Linked DNA regions of Homo sapiens: region 1 is linked to region 2. Evidence: promoter capture Hi-C in 16 types of primary human blood cells and fetal thymus (Javierre and others, 2016). All regions are on one chromosome and are shown on one strand. The core of a region is centred on a gene start or on the middle of the fragment in contact, and the rest is flanking DNA. Distances in the headings are between cores, read along the strand shown. Region 1 overlaps LINC00322 (long intergenic non-protein coding RNA 322). Region 2 holds the start of SIK1 (salt inducible kinase 1).

Region 1 (7,125 bases), core at 3,755-6,254, 110 kb before region 2:
GAACATGACCTTCTTTGGGAAAATGGGTTTTGGAGATGTAATTAAGTTAAGGATCTTGAGATAAGGTCATCCTGGATTATCTGCGTGGACTTTACATCTAACGACAGGTGTCCTTCAAGAGACACAGACACAGAAAAGAAGGCCATGATGATGGAGGCAGAGATCGGAGGGCGCAGCCACAAGCCAGGGAAACCTGGTCTCCTCCACCAGGAGCTGGAGGAGACCAGGAAGTATTGTCTACGGCCACGCATTCTGAATGTGCTCAGTTTCGCCTAATCTTGGTGAAACCAAGGAAACATCCTCCCCTGGAGCCTTCAGAGGGAGCACAGCCCTGCTGGCATCTTGGATATCAGGTCTCTAGAACTGCGAGAGAATCAATTTCTGTTGTTGGTTTTGTTTTGTTTTGAAGCAGGATCTCACTCTGTAGCCCAGGCTGGAGTGCAATGGTGCAATCACCGCTCACTGCAGCCTCTACCTCCCAGGTTAAAGTGATCCTCCCACTTCAGCCTCCTGAGTTCCTGGGACCACAGGCACACACCACCACGCCTGGTTAATTTGTGTGTACGTGTAGTTTTTGTAGAGATGGGGTCTTGCTATCTTGTCCAGGCTGGTCTCAAACTCCTGGACTCATGCCATCCGCCCGCTTTGGCCTCCCCATGCGCTGGGATTACAGGCGTGAGCCACCGCACCCAGCCAATTTCCCTTGTGTTAAGCTGTGTGTGTGATAATATGTTAGGGTGGCCTCAGGAAACGCCCACCTAACTTGGGAAGATGAGAACAGGGAAATCTATACCAGCTTGTGCGTGAGAAGTTTCAGACACAATAATTACTCAGATGTTCTTTCATGGGAAATCAAAGCAGAAGACATCCGAATGTTCAGGGTTTAGATGTAGGTTCTGTCCCTGAATGTACTGCAAATCAAAGACAAACGTGGAGGGCGATCTGGCCCAGCCAGAACATCAGGTCGTTCCTTATGCTGCTCTATCATCAGCTCTCCGTGGAGCCAGGTGGCTGCTTGGGCACTTGAGCCAGCAGGAAAGAGGAGAGGATGAAGGAAGGACGTCGTCTGCCCCAGCTGCTGTAACACACCGTAGGTGGTGGCTCGAGCCGCAGGCATTTCTTTCCCCAGCTCTAGAGGCTGGAAGTCTGAGATCTGGGCCGGCGAGGTTGTATTCTGGGGAGGGCTCTCGAATTGGCTTGCAGATGGTCATTGTCTTGTTGTATCCTCAGATGGCAGAGAGAGGGAGCCCTGGTGCCTCTTCCTCTTCTGAAAGGGCGCTAATCTCATCAAAAGGGCCCCCTCATGACCTCATCTAAATCTAATTATCTCCCAAAAGCCCCATCTCCAAATCATGCCACATGGGAAGTTTGGGCTCCAATGTGAATTTGCAGGGGACACAGTTCAGTGCACAGCAGAGGGCATGGTCCTGCCTGTTAAGGATGCTTTCCGGAGGTTGCACACAACACTTCTGCTTAAAATTTGGGCACCAAAATTTAGGCACATGGTCACAGCTGGCTGCGAGGGGGAATGGGAATTGTATCCAGCTAAAATTAAGGAGTTCATATTATGACGTGCTCCGATAAGAGTAGGGATTCAGACTTTCCCCATGTCCCTTCGTTGCTTCATGCCTCTTCACAGTCCTTCATATCGATCCTGCCGTCTCATGGTCCAACGTGGCTGCCTGAGTACCTGTCATCACCTCTGCATTCCAGCCAATAGACTATGCCTCACTTAGTCCTGATGTAGTGTGAGGAATGCAGTCTCTTATCTGAATGCAGTGTGTCCAGTGAAAAGCTGGGGTTCTTGTTATTCAGGAAGAAGGATGGAAGGGCTGGGGGTAGTTAGCAGAATTTTGCCCACTGCCCTTATTGCCCCAAGGACTCTGGGTAAAACACTGACATGTAAACTGCCCTCCTGTTTGATCATTGGCTGCTCAGAGTCCATCCCTGCAAAGCCCACACCATAAGCTCCCCAAGTGCATGAGTCACGACTTTTCTTCTTCTTGCTCCTATAGGGTCTAGGCTGACACCGGGCAAGTCCCAGGGGGGTTAGCTGGGCATGCGCTGGCTAAGCTGAAGATGGGCTGTACCGAGCCAAACCATGGGATGGGGAAGCAGCGCCAGCAGTGGCTGCCTGACCTCCAGGTAACCCACCGTGCACCCGATGCTGGGTGCCTCCCCTGAGCGCTCTCAGCTTAGGCTTTCTGCACCTGGCTTCCCCACCAGAAGGACTTTCCACCCACACCCTCTGCAAGGCTTCAGAACTCTTTCTAACAAACCCCAGGGGGAGGGAGCGCGTTTCCCCGCAGCCAGACACGCTCAGTGACATTCTAGAGTCAAGTTCAGCGCTTGGCAAAGGCCCATTCCATAAAGGACAGATGCCCGGCCTCGGGAGGTTACAGGAATGGGGAGAAGGGTGACAGGACCCTCAGCAAGTCTCTGTGTCCAGGGGTTTCCAGCCAGCGTGGCTTGCCATGCTCCAAGCTGGGCTCAGAGGCTCTGGCTTCCCGACCCTCTGAGAGCATCTCTCTGTACACACAGAGGGGGTGGGGGCCAGTCACATCTGCTCCGGGCGATGTGACTCAGCTGTGGACGATGACGACATGATCCTGAGCATGACAGGGTGGGAAGCTTTTCCTCCTTCTCCAGGGCCTGCGAACCCTGGAAATGCATCCACGATGCAAATAGCGACAGACATCATTAGCGGACGCATCCATTCTGTTTGAGCTGGAAACGCTCAGGGCTGCAAGGCCCTTTTCTGAGAAGAGCGGTTCCTGTCGTCATCCTCCTCTGCACCGCAGCGTCTGATTCCCAGGAGGGACAGCCCGGCAGTTATAAAAGGCTCTTTCATGACAGGCCTAGAGGAATTAGAAATATAATTTTTTCAGGCGCTTCCAAAAAATCAAGTAATTAGAGCTCATGCACGTAAAAGGGCCCGCCATGAGATTTGTGGCTTGTTTTTTAAAGGAATCAATTTATATATTAAAACAATAAAATACATCCGGGGAGCACAAGCCTCTCTAATGCTTTCAGTGTCTTCTCAGTGTGGTTCCAGAAAACTCTGCCCCAGAGGAAACCAAGGACAGGGTTCCCTGGGCTGTTCCTGGGGGTTTGTGGGGGCTGCTGGGCTGGATGTAAAGTCATGTGTGTTCTCAAGGCTGGGGAAAGGACTTCACTGCTGCTGCTGACCCCAGCAATGTGTCCACTTGAATCAGCTCAGTGTAAAACAGAAAAAAAAAAGTGCTCTTGTCCTTTCAGGTCCTAATGTAGAGAGTGAAATGGCAGAAAGGATTCTATGTTAAATTTCCAGCTCGTAAAACCAGATGCAAGTTTATGCTTGTACATGGCCATGGGGAGGCCAAGGCTGGGAGGGTGGGGCCCATCCTGCAGGTGCAAGGTTAACTCTCCCTGCCCACAGGGGCCTGCAGCTTCCCCTCCCCCAGGTGATGGTTTGAATGGTATTCCCCACAAAAGATGCTGAAGTCCAACCCCCAGTACCTGTGAGTGGGACCTTCACTGGAAACAGAGTCCTGGCAGATCAGGTTAAGATGAGGTCACAGGTTGGACCCAACAAGACTGGCGTCTTTACCAAAAGGGGCGATTCTGACACAGAGGGGCATGTCCAGGGAGGACAAACTGAAGATACAGGGAGAAGACGGCCATCTCCAGGAACATCTCAGGCTGCCAGAAGCTGGCAGAGATGGGGACCAGAGGCTCCCTCACAGCCCCAGGAGGAGCCAGCCCTGACCACACCTGCATTGCAGACTTCTGGCCTCCAGGGCCGTGAGGTCAGGGATTTCTGAGGTTCAAGCCCCCCAGTGTGGTGCTTTGTTACGTAGGCTGAGCTGACTCATACACCCCGGCTGATGAAATGCTTCACCATCAGTTTCAGTTGTGAGCTGGTCATCTGGCCCCAAGAGAGCCCAGGCACCCCAGCCCACTACCCACCCTGGGTTTCTGCCCACGCCAATGGCTCCTGTGCCACCATGGCCAGGTAGAGGCACTTCCTCCACCCAGCCCTGGGTCACATGACAATTCCCTGTTCTCACTGTCCCCGTGAACCCCTCAGGGTCAGCGCTTCCACAGCCCTGGCAACCCTAGGCCACTCTGAGTGGCAGAGGCTGCCTAGCGTTTCTGACTCTGGAGACCCCTCTGTTGAGGATGGGGTCCCCTGGGTCCTGGAGCTTCCAGCACCCAGTCTCAGCTGAGGCCACCGCCTGAGCTCCTTCCTCCCAGAGGCTGAGCCGGCCTTTGGCCCCTGCCCTGGCACTGTGCTGGCTGTGCTCTCTGAGCTCATTTTTCTTGGTGGAGGCCAGGAGTTGGCTTCAGGGTACCCTTGTGTTTTCTCCTCCAAGGCCTGGGGACATATTCACAAATCCCTCCCAGGGGCCCTTCTGATGCCTTCATAGTGAGTCACTGAGGGCCCCCAAGCCTGGGGCCCAGGCCGGGTGAAACAGATTGCCCAGCACCTCCCCTCCTCCCCTTCACTGCCTTGAGAGAGGAGCGTCCTTCTCAGCTGTTTCTCCACATAGAGGATGGAGGCCACCAGGCCTCACCGTCCTGAGAGCCATCCCAAGAGCCATCCCAGGCACTGCCCTTGGAACTGGCCATGTGGCTCCAGTGTGGTTTGAGGCTTCAGAGGATTCGGGCCCATGAGGCCAGGGGAACACCCAGTGGGAGGCCTGTCCCTCCTTCCCGACCCTCCCCTGACCACATCTGGCCTCTCTTTGGGGGCCCTTCTGGGTCTGCCCTCCTCTTCTGGGGCCCAAGGGGGGGCCTTGGGTGGAGCTCAGATGTGCCCCCTGGGAGGCGCTTGCTGGGCAACGCCCCTTGGGGTGGGAGATGGAGCTGGGTGGGCAAAAAGGGGGTGCCTGTGGGTGGGGCCTGCACCTGCACGCTTGCCTCAGCAGGTGTGACTCGGGCAACTGACCCTGGCTGAGGCTCAGGGACCCCCAAAACTTTGCTGTTTGATTGGAGACGTTTTCAAAACGAGTCCTTGGTGGCAACCCCAGGCCAGCTCCACAGGGCCCCACGATCTGTCTTCAGGGTGCTTCCAAGGCAGGAGCTCAGGCCGGTGGGGCACCCTAACCCTCGCTGGATGCTCCTGCCACCCTCCCTGGTCTGCTCCCTCTTGAGAGGGGCATGGGCTTCGAACCATGGGCTATGAGCCTATCCACATACCTTGTTTTCCCCACTAAATGGCAGCGTTTCTTATTGATGCCCATGGAAACCACCAGGGAGGTGGCTCTGCCCCCTGGCTCTACTCAAGGGATCATAATACATTTCAGAGCCAATCTTATCTCCACTACTTTATAGGAGTCAAAAATACAATGTTTTCAAGACAAGGACAGCCCAGCAGACCCACAAAGTCGCAGGGCACAGAGCTGCCCAGCACCCTTTCTCCCCCAGCCCAGCCTGTGCCGGCCGTGTTGTCCCGACAGGCGCCACACGGAGGCCTTCGCAGTTGGAAATGGTGCTGTGTGGCAAGGGCATCTGGGCCGGTGATGACAGCAGACAGTGGCGGGGGCTCGCATGGGGACCCACCACTGCGGCTCCACACTGCAAGCAGAGCCCTGGGCCCAGCCAGAAACCAAGCAGAGGCCATGCAGTGCGGAGGCTGAATGTTCTTGGAGAGTGTGGCCGGCTTCCTCCTCTCTCCAGACAGCAAGACCCAGGATGGGCCTGGAGTTGTCCGAGGACACAAAGCTGGTTTGCGGAGGGCTGGCCTGGGGCGCAGGGCTCCTGGTGCCTGGTTCAGAGCCTTTCAACCCCCGTGTTGCCACACCTGAGCCAGTGCGACACTCAGCTGCAGTGGCCAGACTGTGAGCCCAGGGTCATCGCGAGGCAGACGCCAAGACAGGATGAAGGGCAGGAGGATTTCATCGGGGGATCACCAGTGTGGGAGGAAATGGGGAGGCAGCCAGGAGGCTGGGAAAGCTGTGGGACAGAAGTACGAGTCTGACTGCCAGGGAGGCGGGGAGGGGAGGGAGCGAAGTGGTGGGTGCAGGCTGTGGGGAGCCCTGGAGATGTGGCTGGGGTAGAGGAGTCCCAGTGAGGGACAGGAGTGTGTCTGGTTCTCAGCTGTGTCCCCAGCACCTTGGACAGTGCCTGGCACATAGTACATGCTCATTGTAGGTTTGATGAGCGAGTGAATGAATGCATGGCTGGCGATGGGCTAGTGGAGGAAAGGGGAGAGACCTGTGCGTGGGAAGGGCTCTTGGAGCCTTCTGCCAAGGAGAGTGGAGCCCCAAAGGCAGTACAGAGCGTCTATGTTCTCTCCAGACCGTGACCCCTCAGCCACCCTGACTCAGCCCTATCTGCTCCCTGCCATGGAGGTCTTAGACATGCTATCCCGGGCTGCAGCCTACTAAGCAGGACCTTGAGAGTGAATGTGCTGCCTGAAGCACATGGCCAGCCTCCTTCGGCGCCAGCCCGCTGGCCCTGTTTGCGGGAAAATGCCTTCTGTATTGCTTCGTAATGGCCTGCTTTGTTCAGCCAGCTTTGCACTTGAAGCCAGCCAGCTTGGCAGCCGAACGGCCACATGTCGGTCATTCAGGCAGCAGGTCAGCAGTGGAACTGGGTGGCTTCCAGCTGCCCGTGGGAGCCGGCCTGAGATGAACCTCCTCCCTCCTTCTGAGAAGTGGCCGGGCACACAGGAGTGCAGCCTGGCTGCATTTTCAGTCATTTCCCAGGTTATTTTCCTGGCTGCAGTGACACACCAGCCACATGCTGCCCATGTGGGCCTGGGTCTCCCTGGGCTTAGGAGGAGCCCCACAGGTGCTTTATGAGGACGGGCTGGGGAGAGTGGAGGAGGCGTCCCCAGCCTGTCCCTGCGAGGTGCCCGGGTCCCGGCTGCAGCCTGCCCATGTCCCCAGGTGCCTGCATGGCAGAGCCAGGCCACCTGCTGTGCATCCGCCACCTTGTGCTGGGAGGGTGGCACTCAGTGGATGCCAGCCATGCACCCGCCTCAGCCTCCACATTCACTTTGCCACAGGGAAAAAGGGAGCATTGTGCTGGCCCAGTGACCCCAGACGTGCTGACCTACTGGGAGGGGCAGTGGGTCTGCCCCGCATCCGAGTAAGGCGGGAGCTGCTAAATGCACCCATTTGGGCTCTGCCCCAAAAC
Region 2 (7,219 bases), core at 1-2,500:
GAACTAAAAACGGTTACTATTTACCCACCACGACAATCAAGCCTGGAGCAGTGAATCTGCATGGGGTCCACCCGCCAAAGGTCGGGTCGCCCCGGGTCCAGTGGGGAGGCCCCGCCGGCTGGGTCCCACCGCCCCCACGCACCTGCGTTTTGGTGACTCGATGCCGCGCCAGCTTCACCACCGCGAAGTTGCCTTTGCCCAGGGTCCGCTCGATGTCGTAAAAACCCACCCGGAGGGGCTTCTGCTGGCCCTGACCCTGGCCCGCGGGGTCCGCGCTGAACTCCGACATGATAACCATGGCTCCGCGCGCACCTGCGGGGCCGCACAGAGCTCAGAGCCCACCAGCGCCCCCGCCGCCCGCGGTCGGCTCCATCCGTGCCCGCGGAGCCCCCAGTCCCCACGGGACGCAGGGACCTGCTCCCACGCCTGTCGCCCCCACTCTATCCACGGGCCCCTCCAGCCCCGTGGGAGGTGTGGACCCGCCCCCGCCGCCCGCTCCACCCGGACCCCCGACCCTCTTGAGCCCCGCGGGGCGCACGGACCCGCTCTCATAGAGGCCCCTGCCGCCCGAGTCCGGTTCCGTCCCGATCCCGGGACCCCCTGAGCCGGGATTCCACACTCGCCTCCCGCCGCCCGCTGTCGGTTCCGTCCCCACCCTCGACCCCTTTAGCACCTCTGGGCGCGGACCCGCTCCCACACCTGGCCCTGCCACCCGAGGTCGGCTCGATCCGGATCCCAGGACCGTCCCCTGCCCCGCTCCCACACCCTGCCCCCGCCGCCCGCGATCCGTCCGGTCCCCACCCCCGACATCCCAGGCACCTCGGGGATCGCGGACCCGCCCCCCACACCCGGTATCTCCGCCCGCGGTCGGCTCCAACCTGACCCCCGGCTCCCCAGCCCCTGAGCCCCGCGGACTCACTCCTACCCCGGCCCCCCAACAAAGGGGAGCCCGAGGGCGGCCAGGCCGCCAACCCCGCCCGCGAACCCCGCGCGCGCAAGGCCAGGGACCCTGCGCGGTGGCTGCAACCCCGAGCCCCGGCCCGGCGCCCGCGCGGAGCCCCCACGGCGGCCACCTCCGCCCGCCCGGAGCCCGCCGCTGCCGCCGCTGCCGCCGCTGCCGCCGCCTCACCTCCGCCGCCACCGGAGCGCCCAGGCCAGGAAGCCGCCCGCTCGGCCGCTGGCGCTGCTCGGGTGCCTACTGCTCCGGCTGCCGCCGCCGCTGCTGCTGCCTCCGGGGCCGCGCCGCATGTCAGCCCGGAGCCGCCGCGCTCCGCCGCACGCGGCGCCCGGCCCCGCCCCGGCCCGCCCCGGCCCGCCCCCCGTAGTCCCCGCCCCCTGCCCCGCCCCCGCCGCCCGGGCGGGGGCCGCCCATTGACGTCGCTTTGACGCCAGAGCGACGCGCGGCCGAGCGCCGGGCGGAGGGAGAGCGGGAGATCGGGCGGTTGCCAAGAGACTGGCGGCTCTGACGCGCGCGGGATGAGGCCGTTGCCCTGGCGACCGCGGGCCGGTGACGTCAGGGGCGCCCGCCGCCCGAGGCCCGCCCGCCTGCGCTCCGCCGGGCGCCCCCTCCCGGGCGCTGGGGGCACTGCGGGCGGCCCCACCGCCGAGGGCGCGCCCGCCCCTCCACGCTCGGGCACTCGGGCCGGGTCCCGCGGGCGCCTTGTGCTCGCTCCCTCCAGGAGGGGACGGCTCTCGGGCAGGGGTCGCCGGCCCCTCCACGCGGCCTGCGTTCGTCCAGACTCAGAGCCTCGGGACGTGCGGGGGCCCGGGGGCCTCGCGGGCTCGCGCGTGGGGCTGGCGGCGCGGATGCCCTGGGGCGCTGCAGACCCCGAGAGGCCGCTTGCCCGCGGGGACGTCAGCCGCTTTTGCTGTTAAAATCTGAAATGTTCAGCAAGTTAGAAACTTGAAACCTAAGGAAGCGTGACCGGCCGCTCTGGAAGCCCCCGCCGCGCGGCCGGTCCCGGCCCCGGCCCTCAGCGGCGCTGGCGTCTGCGCGTCCCGGGGCTGCCCCCGCAGCATGTGGGGCTGGGACCCTCTTCCCGCGCGGGCCCCGGGCGGACGCTGCGGGCGGTGACGGAGCCAGGCCGGCCGCCTGGGTAGGGGACGGGGGCGCGGGACCACTTGCTTGCCCGTGGCCGATGCCTCATCCGAACGGAAAACGTTTTCTTCAGGGGAGACAGAGGCTGTGGGCGAAGGTATTTTTTAAGCCTGAGGACCCATTTGGGAGTTAGATTCTGGATCGAGCCTAGGGTCAGTTTTCCTTGTGTTAAATAACACTACTTCACAGAAGGGGGAACGAGAATTCAGGGGAGTTGGCACAAAACTTGGAACCCTTCTCGGGAGGCTTTCCTGCCTGGACGGACGCCTGGGAGGAGGGCCCGGAGAAACGAGGATGAGCTTCTCCTCATTCGCCCGAGGGTCTGACCACAGATTTCCCAATCGCCACACACACACACACACACACACACACACACACACACACACGGGTTGTTTGGGAGTCAGTTGGTTTTCAAAGGCTTTCAAGGAAATGAAGAGTCCCAAAGTTTTCCTTAATCGTTCAGAGTGTTTTTCTTTGTCCCAGGTTTATATACCAAGAATACGGGGGAATATTTTTAGTTCCTTTCAGCTGAACAGTGTACAACTGCCTTTTTTCCTTTTGGAGGTCCCAACACCCTGTTAATCCGCTCCTAGGAGAACTAAACAAAAACAAGGCTGGACGTCGTGTCTCCCGCCTGTAATCCCAGTGCTTTGGGAGGCTGAGGCAGGAGGATCAGTTGAGCTCAGGAGTTTGAGACCGGCTTGGTTAACATAGCAAGACCTCACCTCTATAAAATACTTTTAAAATAGCCAGGTGTGGTGGCACACGCCTGTGGGGCCGGCTACTTGGGAGCCTGAGGTGGGAGGATGGCGTGAGCCTGGGAGGTTGAGGCTGCAGTGAGCTGTCATTGCACCACTGCACTCCAGCCTGAGCAAGAGAACAAGGCCCTGTCTCAAAAAAGAACAAAGATAAAAGGCGGGGTGGGGGAGAAACCAGGCCCCTGATCACACTCACCATTCAGTCCCTCAGCCTGTGACTTGAAATACTGCCCCCCGCATCCAGGAAGCAGGCTTCCCCACCCCTCCCACCCTAGCCAGAGTCTTCCAAAAGGTCTTAGGTATTTGCAAACACCTGGCTGGCTGTTTGGAAACATTGCATCAGCACCAAATAAAAACTGCAGCCAAAACTGCCTCCGCAGAACAGGTCCCCAAACTCAGGTGCACTTGACCTTTCACCCTGACCCAGCCCTGAGCTTCCAAAACCCAGAACAGCCCTGTGCCAACCATGGCCATCCTGTTTTCCCTTCCCTGGGCCCGTGGGCAAGGAGCTCGCTCTGCAGAGAAAGGCAGGAAGCACAGAGGAAAAGGCCAAGCTTGGAACGGCTGTCCCGTCTCCCCACTGGGGGAACCCCTGGCACCCTCATAACTAAGTCTGTGCTTCAACCTGGTCTCTGTTACCCAATGTCTTTTGTTGTTGTTTGTGTCCTTGACCCCCCGAGGCTGTATTTCCTCTCAGAAGCTTTGATTTCTTTTCTGTTTTCTGGTCTTCCGTGCCTTTAACACGAGGAAAAATAAAACACATGGTGTGAGTGTAAGGATGGTACAAGCAAATGATTGGAGAAGCTCCTCACTGAACATAATGGAAGGAATGCTCCCAAAGTCTGCAGGAACGGTACTTTATTATTATGGTTTGCATATTATTACAGATTTGTGGAAAACGGCAAGTCAGTTTTCCTTTCCACATGGACTTTCTTCAGCTTGTCTTATGATTGCCGTGTTTCTGGAGTTCATCTTGTTTTTTAGGCCTTAAGACTGGAAACCCCAACAGGAAATGGGTCCATTTATTATTCATAGTTGTAACGCTGGCCACTGGCATGTCACAAAACTCTCAAAATCAATTGATAAACACAGAGAATGGAGCGTGGGGCAGCATTTTTGCAAAGGGATGGGTGCCCAGCTGGCCCCAGTGCCGCCCTCTGTGAGGAAGGAATCTCCCAGTGCAGCCAGGAGTCAGACGAGTTCCTCTTCCCGACCCTACCCTCCCATCTTCGACGCCTAAGGCCCTTCCCTGTCTTCCTGGCTTTGCTTCAGGTGGTTTTGTACTTTTTAAATTTTGTTTTGGTTTGTTTAGGCTTCAGCCTAGCGGCTTTAGGTGCCAGAAAATCAGATTAACCACTGCAGCGGCATCCTTCTCAGGGACCCGGGGGCCACGTTGGTCATTTTGCCCCATTGTATCTGGAGAGCTTGACAGACAGACATGTGTGCACTAGGTCAGGAAGCCACGGCCCTGGCCTGGGAAGAGGGCAGGTAGGAGAAAAGCCCCCAGCCCCCTCCACCCTCAGGGAATGGCCCAGTTGTCCACAGGTTAAGTCAAGAATCCCCCGCGAACAGGTCAAACCAGAGACTGCCCAGTCCCAGCGTCCGCCCCCAGGGCATTGCTTCCTTCACCTCCTACACTTGGCTCCCTGTGGTTCCGTGGCTGCCACAGTTGTGTGGATCCTACCGGGCCCAGGGCCCCTCCCCATCTCAGACAGCACCCACTTTCAGGCTAGGCCTTCCACGGGCTGCTTAAATGGACCACGAAGGCCGGCAAAGCAGCAGAAACGTGCCTGTTCACGGGCCAGTCGGCCCTCCCCGCTCCAGCCCTCTAGGGTTTCTGGTTCCGGTTTCTGTCGCTGCCGTTAGTGAGGAATTATTCATGTGGCCAATGCGTTTTCTTGACATTTAAGCAGGGCTGTGGCCGATATCAAGGCTGAGGACCCAAGAGGCCTTTGGGTGTCTGTGTCCCTGAGCCATATGCTGAGGTCGGACGGCGGGGGAGGGGGGTGCAGGAAGGGGCCAGCCCCAGCGAGAGTCAGCCAGGCCCCAAACAGAGCCAGGGGTTCCCCCGGGGGGGAGTGCTCACTTAGGAAGAGCACCATGGACAGCCTGGCAGGAGGTCACCCTGTGCTGAGCAGGCAGCGCTGGAGTAAACCACCTGCCTCTCTGTAGGAAGAAGGAAACCGCATCCGCAAACGGAGCAAAGGTCCCCAGAGGCAGAGCAGAAGCCTCTGGGATGCTGCAGCTTTGTGCAGACACTGGGGACCAGGACTGGAGCAGGTGCTGGCCGTGCTCTTTATCCTGGGCACTCTGCCAGGGCCACACGGAGCGTGGCTCCCGGGAGATGGAGACGTCTGAGTGTCAGCTCAGGTCTCGGTGTTTCCAGGTGACATGCTGGCTGCTAGTGTAGAGCATGGTAAACCATCTTTTTTTTTTTTGGTTACTATTTACTTATGCAAAATAATGTGAGTTTCTGCCATTTGCAACAAGTGTGCCAGCTGCAATGAGTCAGCGGGTGGACACAGGTGAGCATGGCCAGACTGTGCCAGAACATGGTGACAGACAGACATGCTTCGAAGTTCACTGTGGGAAGGGACAGGTCCCCAGAGAGAGGTGAGACGGTGCAACGCGAGGGTGAGTTCGGAGTCATCCTCCAGATGTCCACAAAGGCTCGAGAGGCCCTGCTGTGTGTCAGGCACTGCGTGAAGGTTGTGGGCACAGTAGGAGGGACACAAGACACCTTCTCTCGAGGACCGTTGGTTCCAGTTGCGGAGACAGTAACAGCATAAGATGATGAGTAAGAAAAGAATGCTGGCAGGAAAGTGGCCATGGAGGGAACTGCTTCCGGGCCTCTCCGTGGGATTTGCCAGGCGTGGACTGAGCGAGGACCTTCCCTGAGAACACCAACTGCTCCAGGAGAGAGAAGAGGTGGAGCCCCGGCGGGGGGCATGGGGCAGGAGGCAGCCACCCACACCTTCCCTCTCTGAATGCTGAGCAGAGGCTCTCAGCAGAGGGGAAGAAGAGCAGAGGCCACGATTGGGAAGACAGACCCAGTGGGGGTCCTTGGCGCCGTCCACATCCATCTGCAACCTGCTGCCCAGCGCCTGCCTGCCCGGGGTGTGCACAGAGCAGTGTGGTCTGTCCCGGCTTCACGGCCTGACACGGCCAGGCGAGGATGACAGGGAAAGGGAGGCAGGGACTTGGGGCTGTTGGAGCCAAGCTGAGGAGCAAGGAGCTGCGATGGGAAGCGGGTGGCAGGAAGGAGCGTGAGGCCTGTGGGTGGAAGGTCTCTGGCCTTGGAGATTGAAGCGTTTCACTTGTGCATCTCACAGCCCAGAGAAGCCAAGCCCGGACCATGGGGGAGAGAGGAGGACCCCCGTCTCAGGGCGGGCTGAGGAGACGCTCTCTCCACGGCTTCCGGATGGGTCTCCCTCCATCTCAGCTGCATCTATGGGAAAACGATGAAATGCTCCCTCCACTGCCGGGCCTTCTCTTATAAAGCAGGTTTCTTCGAAGTATAAAAATTAATAGAAAAGGTTCCATAGAAAATCAAGAAAGTAAGTATGTAAAGATGAAAACAAAAAGCACCGGAAATGCTCTTCATAGCTGACGTTTTCTTATTCACTTTTTATTAAAACAGGATGAGGCGTCCTGCCTTTTCCAGCCTTATCTAGGAAGTGTCTTGCCAGGTCACCAAATGGCAAGCAGAACCGTAAGCTGAAGTTGTCTGCCTAGAATTCCACTGTGGCAATGTTCAGCATCCCGACTGGACAGCTCCGTGCGGCGGCATCGGGGGCGCGGCGGCATCGGGGGCGCGGCAGCATCGGGGGCCCTTTTCATGCCATTCAAGGCCCCGTGGAAACAGACACCACAGCTCAGCATGAGACTGTGGCCCCACCTGACCTGGCTCATCCATCCCCAGCCTCTCGTGGTCCCCGGCCCTATGCCGACATTTGGCACTCGATGAGCCATTTCTCCACATTTCAGGAGCCTTGTTTTAAGACAGCCTGGCTGTCTGAGAGCCACCGGAGTCGAGACTGGATGCCCGGCCTGGTGCCCGTGGGCCAGCACCGCCTGAGGAGGAGGGGTCTCTGGAGGCCACAGGCAGAGCCACTGAGAGGGATCTTTAAGCAGAGGGCCCCACACACCTCCTGGGACCCACGGGTGTGGCTGCCATGCAGGGTCTGGGAGCTACAGAGAGTCGGGAACCAAGGGCGCGGTGGCTCACACCTGTAATCCCAGCACTTTGGGAGGCCAAGGATCACGAGGTCAGGAGATCGAGACCATCCTGGCTCATACGGTGAAACCCCATCTCCACTAAAAATACAAAAAATTAGCCGGGCGTGGTGGCGGGCGCCTGTGG

What was found. The method cuts DNA at HindIII sites, captures the fragments that hold promoters and counts their contacts. A CHiCAGO score of 5 or more calls a contact.
Region 1: a fragment that was not itself captured here is called in contact with the fragment with the promoter of SIK1 in region 2 in 2 of 17 cell types (naive B cells and total B cells); the score reaches 6.9 in naive B cells.

What each region holds. Positions count from the first base shown.
Region 1 is chr21:43,316,913-43,324,037 of GRCh38, forward strand. It overlaps LINC00322 (long intergenic non-protein coding RNA 322), which reads right to left. Exons shown (of 3, transcript NR_103713.2): 3 at 5,297-5,937. Among named protein-coding and RNA genes, the nearest start is that of LINC00322, 12 kb to the right of the region's middle. The HindIII fragment of the contact is 4,751 bases long and covers 2,630-7,125 here.
Region 2 is chr21:43,425,881-43,433,099 of GRCh38, forward strand. SIK1 (salt inducible kinase 1) reads right to left here and starts at 1,251. Exons shown (of 14, transcript NM_173354.5): 1 at 1,130-1,251; 2 at 143-312. The coding sequence starts at 298. It overlaps LOC124905029 (a long non-coding RNA gene), which reads left to right and starts at 3,704. Exons shown (of 3, transcript XR_007067891.1): 1 at 3,704-7,219. RefSeq lists a silencer at 4,849-5,143. The HindIII fragment of the contact is 3,848 bases long and covers 1-3,408 here.